Linked DNA regions of Homo sapiens: region 1 is linked to region 2. The links are contacts of gene promoters, found by promoter capture Hi-C in blood cells and fetal thymus (Javierre and others, 2016). All regions are on one chromosome and are shown on one strand. Each heading gives the region's core, a stretch centred on a gene start or on the middle of the fragment in contact. The rest is flanking DNA. Distances are from core to core; before and after follow the strand shown.

Region 1 (5,715 bases), core at 2,221-4,720, 700 kb before region 2:
CTGCATCCAATCAGCCAGAAAATACCCTGTCTGCATAACTTTTCAAAGTCCAGTTAGAATCCATGCACCTCTCCCACCTCCGCCACTCCCGCCCTCGTGCAGGGCTCTCTCCTGGATGACTGCAGTCGCCTCCAGACTGGTGTCCCTGTTTCCACCTTTGCTCCCTCCCCTCCAACCCACTCTCCATCTAGCCAGCAGAGTAGTCAAAAGCAATGAAAGTCATGTCTCATTCTGCTTACATTCTTTTGGGGTCTTCCATTACTCTTATAATAAAATTCAAACTCATGGCTTGGTCTCCAGGTCCTGTTGCACAGCGCCCGCCAGCATCCTTGGCCTCACCTGCTTTCTCTCCTGGCCTCTTCTGGAGTCAGGTCCTCCAGTCTCCTCTGAGTTCCTCAGACACACCCAGCTTCTCTGTCCCTTGGCAGCCTTGCGCTTGCTGTCTTTATGTGTTGCTCTCTTTTCCTCTGGAACTTCTGTGACTGGCTTCTTGTCCTCAGGACTCCACAATGAAAAGAGCCCCCAGCCTCCCAGTCATGCTGATCTCGGCACCCTGTGAGGTTTTCCTAACAGCACTTAGCACCCTCCACAATCTTCTTGTTCATTGGTTTCCTTGTTTATTGCTTGTTTCCCCAATTAGAATGTCAGCTCCCTGAGATAGACCTTTGTGCTGGCCCCCACTACATCTGTAGCACCTAGAGCAGCTACTGGTACCTCAGTGTTCTGTACATGCCCAATACTGGGAACTTCTTAGGGGCTGGCCTCCTCTTTTTTCTCTAATGGACTAAACCCCATATCCTTAGCTGCTTCTCTCTGCCCATCCTCATAGCCCTGCAGGTTTTGCTCACACAAAACTCCTTGGTATTCCGTAACCCAACTGGAGCTGTCCCACGAGAAACTCGGCTTACACCTACTTCTATCCCTACATCTGTCTGCAACATTCCTCTAATCCTTCAAAGTCACCTCTAATGTCACCTCCCTCCCAAAGCCTTCTTTGATCCCCTATAAACAAGTGTGACTCAGCTATCATCTGTATTTGTGGCTTTCCCCCTTCCTTGCTCCTGGAGGATGGGGCTGTGTGAGATTCATGCTACCCTCCTATAGCCAAAGCTACTTGCAAGAGGGTATGTGTGTGGAGGAGGAGAGTGGGTGTGGACTTGGTCCCCAGGGAGCTCTGCTGAGGTAGAGCTCCCCAGTTGAACAGGGAGCTGGGGTAGGCAGGCATGGGGTACCAGCTGGCCCCAGCAGGAGGAGTGGTGTGCCATACTGGCTGTGGGTTCAGTGGCAGGTCAACTTCCCCCTGGCAGAGACTGAGCTGCCAAGAACTAAGTGATTTTGCTTCTCTCTGAGGCAGACATTTCCCTGGAAGGACAATCTAGCCCTGATTTAGGACCTGAAACCAAGCCAGTTACAGTTAGCCTGACGGGGAGGGTGATGAAGATGCCTTTCTAGATAAAATGTTTGCTAAGCCCAGGTCCAAAAGGGACTCAATGCTGTGGCTGGGACCAAGGCCACGCTTAGAGAGGGCCCGTAGGAACACTGGCCTGGGAGCCCTGTAACCTAAGCTTGGTCCTGTTCCACTCCCATTTTCTGGGGACTTGGACTATTCTATTCCTGGAAATCTGGAACATAGCACAGTAGGGTAGCTGGGGAAGAGGACAGTATCCAATAGAGCCTCTTTCCTTGGCTTCCCTAGGCTTGAGGAAGACCCTGCTCTTTCCCAGCACTGCCAGCCTAACTGCATATTCACATGACTCAAACTGGGCAGTGCTAAGGGGGCCTCAGCAAGCTTCTGTCTTGTCTTCTTTGGACAGATTTGTCCCTGGAACGTGATATTTGCCCAGGGTCTTGAAAGATGCAGAGGAGCTCGATGGGCAAGCAGGATGAGATGCCAGGTCCCACAAGCCAAGTGAGCAAGAGTGTTGAAGAGCAAGACCAATGGCCTCAGTCTGTGGCCAGGAGGGGGTTCAGTGGAGCATGAACCTAACTCTCTCCTGGGCTCTACAGATCCTGGAGTTAAAGTGATCTCAGTGGTGAACTGAACAAATTTCTTTCCCTTTTGGGTTCAGTTTCCCACTTATTTTAAGAAAGGAAGTTCGCAGGCCGTTTGCAGCCCTCCTGGGGAGTCAGAGGATAGATTCGTCTTACCTCAGCTTGTACACTTGCATCATTCAAGTTTGTCTAAGCTCAAACTTCCAGCCAGGACTTTGGAGTTGCCAGTTTCTACGGATCAATGTTTTTAATTAGATTGGGTTTCTTGTTTCTCCTTTATTGAATCGGGTAAGCAAATTAAATTGGGCAATTTGTTGTTAGGTCATTTAAGTGCCAACTGGGTTTCATAACCTGGGTTTGTGCCATATCCAAGTGCCTCCAACTTCTTCCTGGAGTGGTGGAATCAGAGGCCAGCTGGAGGTGTAGGCATCCTAGGGAACCGTAGGCGTGGGTCTCTGGCTCTTGAGGGTCTGAGTCCCTGGGGCATAGACCCACTCTCTTTGTTGGTCTAGAAAGGCAAGGTGGATGGTCACAGGGGCTCAGGACTGAAGCTGGATGGGAACAGTGGTGAGATAATAATCAGGAGTTCCCAGGGTTGCCTGTGGACAAGGCACTTCCTTGAACCCGTAGCCTCTGTTTTGTTATCTATATAACGGGTAAGGTCTCTGGAGACCCTTCTGTTCTGGCATTCTGTTGCACTCTGGCTCTGTGAAGGTGGAATCTGCTCCACCAAGATATAGCTTGTTTGCCTGGTGCTGGAGGGGGCACAGCTTTCGGGATCCGAGTCTTGGAAGGCCGACTGAAGTGGGCTGGGCAAGAGGCCTGGGTGGGGCAGCAGCCTGGGCCAGGTCTGGACAGCGCCTGGCTGACCAAGCTAAGGCTGCCTCGGGCTCCAGACAGCTCGCCCTGCTGCTGTTCCACCTCCGGCCGTAAAGAATGGTGGGGACGCTCTTGCACCGCGATTCGAGCGCACCGTTGGGCTTGCCAAGCCCTTGCTCAATCTCCACGTAGCGGGAGCTTTTTTGCACGACCTGTACTCCAGGAGTGGGAGCGCCCCAAGACCCTCTGGCGAAGAAAGAATTTGAGCAGGGCAGCTGCAGGCACAGGGCATGGCAGGAGGAAGCTCTTCAGCGCCTGCCTCAGATCTCCTCATCTCCACATCCCCCTTGGAGCCTTTGCCCTCACCCTCTCCTCTCAATGGCCACATTTGCCAACTACACGGTGCCACCCTGCAGGGTTTTTGTCGGCAACCCATTCCATCTCTTGCCCAAAGAAAGGGAGGAGGGTTGAGCTGTAGGCCATTCACCTCTGGGACCTGTTCTGAGAGAGGGTAAGGCTGGGACTGCTAGGCCACCTTCCTGGCTCCTGGAGATACAAGAGTGAGGAGGCAGGTCTGCAGACAGGCTGCCCAAACCTGTTGAATTCAGGGAGGTAGTGACAAGATGTGACAGGCGAACAGGGACAATGGCTGGAGGGCTCCAGCAGGGGCTAGGGACAGGTATTCAGGGCATCGGGCTTGGTAAATAACATTAACAAGGCAGCAACTTGAGCAGGCAAATTGGTAATGCAGACAGGGCTCCGTGACTGTGCTGGCTGGCTGCCTGTGAGTCACCTCTGTGGATCGATTTAATTGCTGAGCACTTGGATATGCAATGTGCTTAGAGAGGCTGAGTTGAAGCCCCGCCTCAAAACCAGTGCAACAATTTGGGTGTACTACCAGTGGCCCAGGAGCATTGCTTCCTCAGGCCAGGCCCGGAAGCCTTAGCTCATGTCTCTCCCCTTTTCTCTCTCTTTTGTAAGCACTGGGTCCCTCAGGTTTCAAGGTGAAACAGACTTCTTTTCTAAAGCCACCCTGATCTGGGGGGTCTCTAGAGATCTCCCCAGCCCCATTCAATCAAGTCACCTCTTGTTGCTTGATTGCATTGTCTCTGTCCAGTGCCTGACCCAGAGTAGATGCCAACAAATATTTTTAAAAGAATGGGAAAACCAGTGTATTTCTTGATTTTTTTCAGGTGCTTGCTGTTTTCTATTATGCCTATGAAATAAAAATACAGCCCTTTAGGAAACAATGTTGTGTCCGGTGTGTCCATAGCATAGCAGACGTTTCAGAGAATAGACCAGTTTTGTGCAGATGTGGACTGAGGGCTAGGTGGGGGAGTAAAGAATCTGAGAAACAGGAACTCTGCCAGCATCTCATTTTACAGGCACGGTCTTGTTCTTCCTTTTCTGCTCTGACCATGTGGAACAGAAAACAGTTTTCCTTGGCTCAAAGACAAGGCAGGCGAGGCAGTGACTGTGCGTAAACGTGCCGAGAGCTAACTGTACCTGTTATGGAACAGTTTCAGGTACTGTGTGCAGAAAGGAGTGGAGTGTGCGGTTCAAAACACCGGCTGCTGTGGTCATGCCAACCCAAAGTTGCTCCTGAACCTCAAAGTGATAGCATCCCCAGACTGAGCCACTGTGGGCCGGAAACCCAGGTTTCTGGTGGGTTGTTTACCCAATTGCGGAGATAACATCATAGCCAGATGGAGTAAGTCCTGATTGGTGACATTTGAGGATTTTGAGATGGAGCTGGCTAAAACTTGATTTTTCTATTTTCAAATCTTGTCATGTATTGAATCGTTTTCGAATGGCATGAAAATCTTATTTAGTGGTTAATATCTGCCCATTATTTTAAGAGTAGTTTTCATAACCAGTGACCATCACTAGATCAGGGCCACTAGTAAATCACTAGTACTTTGAATTACTGGCCCTACAAAGCCACAGCTTGGAGTTGGAAGCAGCTTTTCTCTGCTACTCAAAGGGGTGGTGACTGTACTGAGTGGCCAGCTTTGAGATTACTGCCATACACACTCCTGGGTTCTACCTGGCTTCCGCTCTGGGGATTCAACCTAGACCTAGGGCTGGGCCGAGACCTCCGCCTCCCCCATTGTGGGATTGAGGGGCGTGGAGGTGAGGTAAGGCTGTGGCCAGCTCTGAATGGAGAAAGGAATAAGAAAGGAAGGAGAGAGGGAGAGAAGGAAGGCAAGAAGAAGGGAAAGAGGAAAGAAGAAAGGAGGGGAGGAAATAAGGGAGGAAGAGAAGAAGAAAAGAAGAGAGTGAGGGAGATATCTGGGACCCTATCCTGGCAACTTATGGCGGCAGAGTGATGACAGGTGGAAAAGCTTAGCTGACTCTCATGCCAGGCCAACATGCAGAGCTTGGTGTTCAGCTTTGCTGGGTGGCAGGGCTCACTCGGAGGGGGCATGAAAGGGTCACTGGTGGAGTGGAAGGGGTCTTGGCAGGTCATGAGCTGGCTCCCCTCTGCTGGGGAAATGCCACAAGGACTCTTGAGAGACAAGCGGCAGGCCATTGTCATGTTCCTTTTGAAATGGGTCTTCCCAGGCTTGGATTTGGTCACCCCTCACAATTGGGTCACAGATGCCATCTGCAGTGGCACTCCTTGCCTTTACCTTTCTTTGCTCCCCTTCCAACTCCTTTCTTTTTGTGCTTCTCTCTCCTCTCTTTGCTCTCTTGCTCCTCTTCCTCCTGCCCCTCCTCCTTCCTTGCTTCTTTCTCCCTCTGTGGCTCTCTCATCTGCTTTCCCTCCTCCTCGCCCTTTCTTCTGTTCCTCCTTTTGCCTCTGAGACCACTCTTCCCTCCTCTCCCCCTTTTGCTTCCCCTTTTCTCCTCCCTGCTTTATCTCCCCCTCTAAAGCTCGCTTTTTCCTTCCCCCATGTCATT
Region 2 (6,259 bases), core at 1,383-3,882:
GTATGAACCTTGAACTACCACTATTTCAAATGTGGTACTTTTCTTCATGAAATTAGAAAATTTCATAATTTTCTTTATGAAAATTCCTGCCACTCAAATCTTCCCACACGCCTATTGTCCGGATGCCATATAGACATCCTGGGGGCTTTAGAAGGACTAGTACTAACCAATTTCTGGTCTTTAGGAATATGAAAGCGACCTTCCTTGCTCCCATCAGTCCAGTTGACACCAGATAGCAAGCTCATCCAAGGAAGAGAATATACACTATCAGGGCTGCTCTAGAAAACTCCGTAGGGTCAATTTGTGGCTAACAAAACAAGTGGGCTATTAGGCCATATTAAGAATAGTCTAATATCCAGCATGAAGTAAATGATAATCCTTTACTCTGTGGTCTTATTGGATCCAAGGGTTAAGAGGGAGGCATGATTGCTGTCTTCAACTAACTGAAGAACTATTATTAAGAAAAAGCAAATTTGTTCCAGATAGTCCCAAAGAACCAACGAATATAAGTTACTGGGAAACAGACTTTGGCTTATGATGGGGAATACTTTCTGACAATCAGAGTTGCTCCATGACACAAAGAGCCACCTAATGCACTCTCTGTCACTGCAGGGAGTTCAACTAGAAATCAGTCAACAAATTGGATGCTTAGGATAAATTCAAGAACTGAGTAGAGAAATAAAGCTTAATGAATGACCTTTTGGGCTCCTTCCAGTTCCAAGGTTTTAGTATTCTAAAATTTTCGGCACAGAACAACTCCAAATGCTCAGGAAATAAGAATGAGGTCTGTTTTTAAAAGGTGCAGTTTGGAGCATGTTGGGTGGATGAGGCTATAAAAAGTGAAGTACGATTTTCAAGGAAAGGAAGCTGACCAATCAAAGTCTTTTGGGCAGCCCCTCCAGAAATCCAGGTGAAGCCCGGCTCCAGGCTGAGTTGCTGTTACTCTACACGAAAGCCAGGCCGCTACTTTCCAAAAAACCTTGCCAAGCCACACTGTACCTATTGTATCTACACTTGCCTAACAGACAAAGGTGCAAAATTCTCCCCAAGAAGGCAGTAGTGCTTCATGGTTAAGACCACGGATTCTGGAACCAGGTTGCCAGTTTAATTTCCAACTGAGACATGTAATTGCTCTGTAATCTTGGATAAGTTACTTAACCTCTCTGTGCCTCAATTTTGTGAGTAAACCAAAGATAATAATAGTGTCTGTTATTCAATGCACTATTCTGCTACAGTAATTTAATGAAGTAATACACACCAAACACTCAGCCCAGAATCCAAAATATACTACATACTCGATAATTTTAGCAATTAGTATTAGGGATGTCAGAATTACTACCACAGGCACAGCAGCGTCACTCACTTAGAAAGCTCCCATCAAACAATTGGATCCCTTCCCCTACCAGTTCTGAAGGGCTATACTACAAGAGCCTCAATCAGTCTTTGCAGAGCTCCAGACAACCAGAACTTGCTGACTCTCAATAAGCCAAACTACTCACGTTAGTAATCCTACCTCATCACCCTGCTTTCCATAAATCCAACAGCCACCCTTCCCCCAGTCCTCTTGCCCATGCCACCCGCAGCCACAGCCACAGCCACAGTCAGAGGAGCAACAAACTGGGAGGCCAGTTGCAGACAAACCATCAGGTGTTTCCTCCCTTCCAAGGACACAGCTGGACTTAACATGATGCCTATGAGTGAGATGGGGTGGGGTATCTCAATCTCTGATCTAGGATGTCAGCTCAATTATCTGGAATTGAGGGTGGGCAGGCAATGGAGCTTCTCGCCGGGAAACAAGGCAAACCTCCCAAGTTTGTGGAGGAAGTCAGGCCCAACCCCACAGTGAGCCCCTCAAAGGAAGGGGGGAGGGCTCAATCTGCTTTAAAGGAAGCAGTTATTTACAACTTTCTACTCACTTGCATGTGGGGGAGGTAATGGGGAGATGGGGAAAGAGGCTGCAAGGTACCCTCCTTCTTTCTTATTTCCAGCAGTGAGAAGCAGCTGCGGAGAAAGAGTTAAAGAAGGGAGAAAGCTCCAGCCATTACTACATCCCTGGTGCCTAGAGCTGTCTGGGGGGTCATGACAGTGCTGTCTGCTTTGGCTAGGGGCCACTCCGTGGCTTTCTGCAGCAGCTGCTGGGGCCCCCCAAGCAATTTGCAAGGTCAGTGCTGACCTGCTTCCAAAGAGGAACAAAACAATTCACTGACAATGAAGCAAATCACGCATATACCACATCGCAACCCCCCTTCCTCAAATCGGGTTTTACCCCAGTGTCTCCCTGCTCAGATGCCGCCTCTGGGCTTCCACCAGCCCCACTGGGGAACCCAGGATAGCATCACAGCTGCAGAGCATGCCTCGCCTCCCGGCCAACCCAAGGAGACTCTCAGTACGGGGGAGAGATGCTATCGCTAAAGGAGACCTGAGCTTGGGGGAGGGGGAAGAAGGAACATCAATGTTTCTTACCGAGCTCTACAGTCTGAGCGGAAAGGAGAGAAGGATGAATGAACTGAAACAAGTTGGAGGTTGAGCCCTGACAGAGCTCGGCTTCTGGCTTCTTCTTCTCTCTCTGGGTCTCTCTCCTGGTCCCTCTCTCGGTCTGTCTCTCTGGTTTGCTCGCTAGCTTGCGCGCGCTCACGCTCTCTCGCTCTCTCTCTCTCTCTCTCTCTCTCTCTCTCTCTCTCTCAATCTGCCTCCCTCCCTCTCTGTCAGTTTCTCCCTCCCCTCCTCCCCTCCCCTTCTCCCCTCCCCCTTTGCTGGCTTTAGGTTCACCACTGGTGCTTAGCACGCGGCTGTGCTGGGGCTCTGAATACAGTACTGCAAGGCTTTAGATGTGGTTGTTTTACGAAATACTAAAGTAGTATTTTATTCCTTAAGGCATCCAACAGAGAAATAGAGGGAAGCCCAGAGAGAAAGGGAGGAGCAGAGGCAGCAAAGGGAAGAGAAAGAGAGCAAAAGGGTATGAGCGAATAGGAGGATAAAGGAAGTATGGGTTACTGTAGCTGATGTGTGATGCTTACTTGCTGCTCCGAGACTGAAGAGTGAGCTTCCTCCTTTTTCCCTCTGTCTCCCTTATATCCTTATGGGCGTGCCTTCTAACCCAGGCTGCAAATAAAGGTTTGACAATCCTGTCTGTTCAGATTCCATCTCTGGGGACAATAATGAGCTAGAAAAATGTACATCAAAGGGGTTGTCATTCATACTCCACTAAGAAGAAAGAGTTCCGCCACATTGATCCCCTGTTGACCTAACTTCCACCCCCACCCTCAACCAAGTAGAAGTGCAGACCCAATTCAAAACTATCAGTTCTAGCTTCCCTGTAGGTAAGACAGACAAGCAGCAGAACCACAATGCTTTCTTTTCAAAAATTCCAAAGGGAATATAGATGTATGTAATTGTGTGAGCCTATACATGAGTTGCACAAGGACTAAGGTGGGGAGAAGGATAATTATTGACTCAAAGTATAAAAGAACTATATTCCCATTGGGTCAAAAGAAAAAAAGCAACCTAGGCAAAGCACAGTAACAATGCAGCATAGAGTGGAAAAAGACCTAGGCTAAAAATAAAATAAAGGAACTTGAGTTTGAGTTCTGCCTCTGAAAATTGCTGTGTTGCTTTCAACGAGTTCTTCAATCTGGCCCTCAATATCCTCAGTGACCAAATGAATGGTAATGGAAATAGATGATCTTAAAAGACCCTTCCAGAACTAACAGTCTAGGAATCTAAAGACAGGAAAATTCCAGGTAAAGGAGAAGTTGGCCCTTAGAAAATAAAAACTAAACTGCCACATTTCAAAAGTTCTCCAAAGGTGAGTCCCCAAATGCGACTCCAAATCACATTGATTCAACATTCCATCTTTTGTGTTTCAGGGATAATACCAATATAAGCACGTGAATAAAGAGCTGTTCCTATCAAAGAATTCAGCATCTGCTTACATATAATGATTAGTATAAAAGTTTTCTTAGTCAAACTCTTCATATTGTGATTTCTAGTCCTGTTAGAAAAATTCAGAGGGCATCTAATTGAAAGTGAGTTATATAGTGTGTTTAAGTATACTAGTGTCAATATACATACAGTGACTGGGACATAATAGGCATTTACAATGTTGCCCATAGTGTGCCATTTCTCTTTAAACTACCATCCTGTTGGTTTTTTTCCCCCAAATTTCTAATGCTCTCTACTCCTGCCAAATGAAGTACATGTGCTACACTCCTATACATCTTCAAAAGCATGTGTCCATACATTGAGTAGAAGATAGATAGGTACTCGTAAGCTTAGAGTCACTGAGCTAAAGGGACCCATAAAGATAACCATGTCATTGTACAGAAAAAGAAACTAGACTAAATAGAAAATATAATTCACACAAGGTCATAGTGAGTCAGTGGCAGAATCAAGGCCAGTACTCAGATTGCTGACTGCAGGTACAGTATTTTTCTCTACAAAATTAACATGTAACTTGCACATAAAGCAAGTGTGTATGTGAGCATAAAGCTATAAATACTTTTTCCTGCATAGGTACCCATTTTCATGTGTAGATTTGTTTGCATAAATGTCCATTGGATTTAATAGATTAGTATACTGGCAAAAAGAAATATTAAGGTTGCTGTATTAGTTTTCTAGGGCTGCCATAACAAATTACCATAAATTCAGTAGCTTAAAACAACAGAAATTTATTGTCTCACAGTTCTGAAGGTCAGAAGTCTAAAATCGAGATGCTGGCAGGGTCAAACTACTCCAAAAGTTCTAGAGAATGATTTCTTGTCTCTTCCAGCTTCTGGTGGTTTCCAGTGTTCCTTGGCTTATCACTGAATCTCTGCCTCGGTCTTCAAATGGTCTTCTCCTCTGATTTCTGTGTGCCCAAATCTCCCTCTTTTTTCTTATAAAGACACCAGTCATTGGATTTAAGGCCCAACCTAAATCCGGAATGATTTCATCTCAAGATCTTTAACTACTTCCTTTTGCAAATACCATACCATTGAAATGAGGTCACACCCTGAGGTTATAGACGAACATGAATTTTGGGGGACACTATTCAGTCTACTACAATTGAAAACTTTTCATCTAATAAAGATACCAAACAAACAAATAAACCATCTGGGTGCCACCATTTATTTTAAAGAAAAGATATTTTAATATAAATAAGTTGGATTAAGACACTCTCTGAACAAAAAAACTCTTCTCTGAATCATACAATTATACCTGTATGAAAACTTCACAGCATTTTCATAATTTTCCCACTTGACTGCAAACCAAAAACAAACAAACAACAACAACAACAAAAAAAACAGAATCCTTTATTAGGAAAACTTCTGGCAATGGTGAAGAAGCTTCTATCAGACCAACCCTGATGCAGATAACAATAATAAACAGTGGACCAAATATATAATAAAACAATTTAAATGCACAGGAAAGCAACCCATAAACAGGCAAAAATTGAAAGGGAATTAATAATTGAAAGGAGGGAACAATACTAAGTGAGTTTTTCCTTTTCTGGAAATTTTTGTCTGATGGCAGCCCCCAGGCCAAAGCAGTGAATAAACTCTAGAGAAACTAGAATCAATGTTGCAACTGTTAAATGTTTAACAACTGGATCTTGAGGAAAATTAATAAAAAACAAATTCATAGTATTTGCCAATTTCAATGGTGTAAATACTTCTACCACGGACCATTCCATGAACATGGAGTTGAATAGAGATATGCACAGTAGGCATTCACAAACCAGTGTTAGCCAGCTCCCACACACAACTGCTCACAGTCCAAGTGTCTGAAAGAACCAGACGGCAGAATTCAGGATGACCACGGTAGTTGAAAAGCCATGAGAGAAATTCAATAATTTAAAAAACTAGGGAGAGGAAGCCCCAAATTCTGTGTATAAACTACCCAGCTGTCTGGTGAAACCATGAAATATTTATGTGGGAACAGATTCCAAAAAGCCTAAATAAAGCTGAAAGAATTAAACAGAGTTTTCAGTGCTGCCAATGAGGGAGAGTTTGGAGTTTCACTTCAGCCCCATTAACTGTCTACTAAAACAAACAAAATCAATGCTCTAGAGAAAAAAATAAAGGTATCCTACAATATATAATTCACTATTTTCAGGGTACACTCAAAAATTACTACCAAAGCAAAGATATAGGAAAATATTACTCATATCCAAGGAAAAAATAATAATAGAGACCAGCCCTAAGGTAAACCAGATGTTTGAATTAGGAGAAAGAATTTTAAATCACATATCATAATTACACTAAGGGAAATAAAGAAAAAC

Evidence for each region. The method cuts DNA at HindIII sites, captures the fragments that hold promoters and counts their contacts. A CHiCAGO score of 5 or more calls a contact.
Region 1: a contact is called between a fragment that was not itself captured here and the fragment with the promoter of GABRA3 in region 2, in 1 of 17 cell types (megakaryocytes). The highest score is 5.1, in megakaryocytes.

The regions. Positions count from the first base shown.
Region 1 is chrX:151,750,627-151,756,341 of GRCh38, forward strand. No RefSeq gene overlaps it. Among named protein-coding and RNA genes, the nearest start is that of CNGA2, 19 kb to the left of the region's middle. The HindIII fragment of the contact is 3,367 bases long and covers 1,788-5,154 here.
Region 2 is chrX:152,448,683-152,454,941 of GRCh38, forward strand. GABRA3 (gamma-aminobutyric acid type A receptor subunit alpha3) reads right to left here and starts at 2,633. Exons shown (of 10, transcript NM_000808.4): 1 at 2,464-2,633. The HindIII fragment of the contact is 3,586 bases long and covers 683-4,268 here.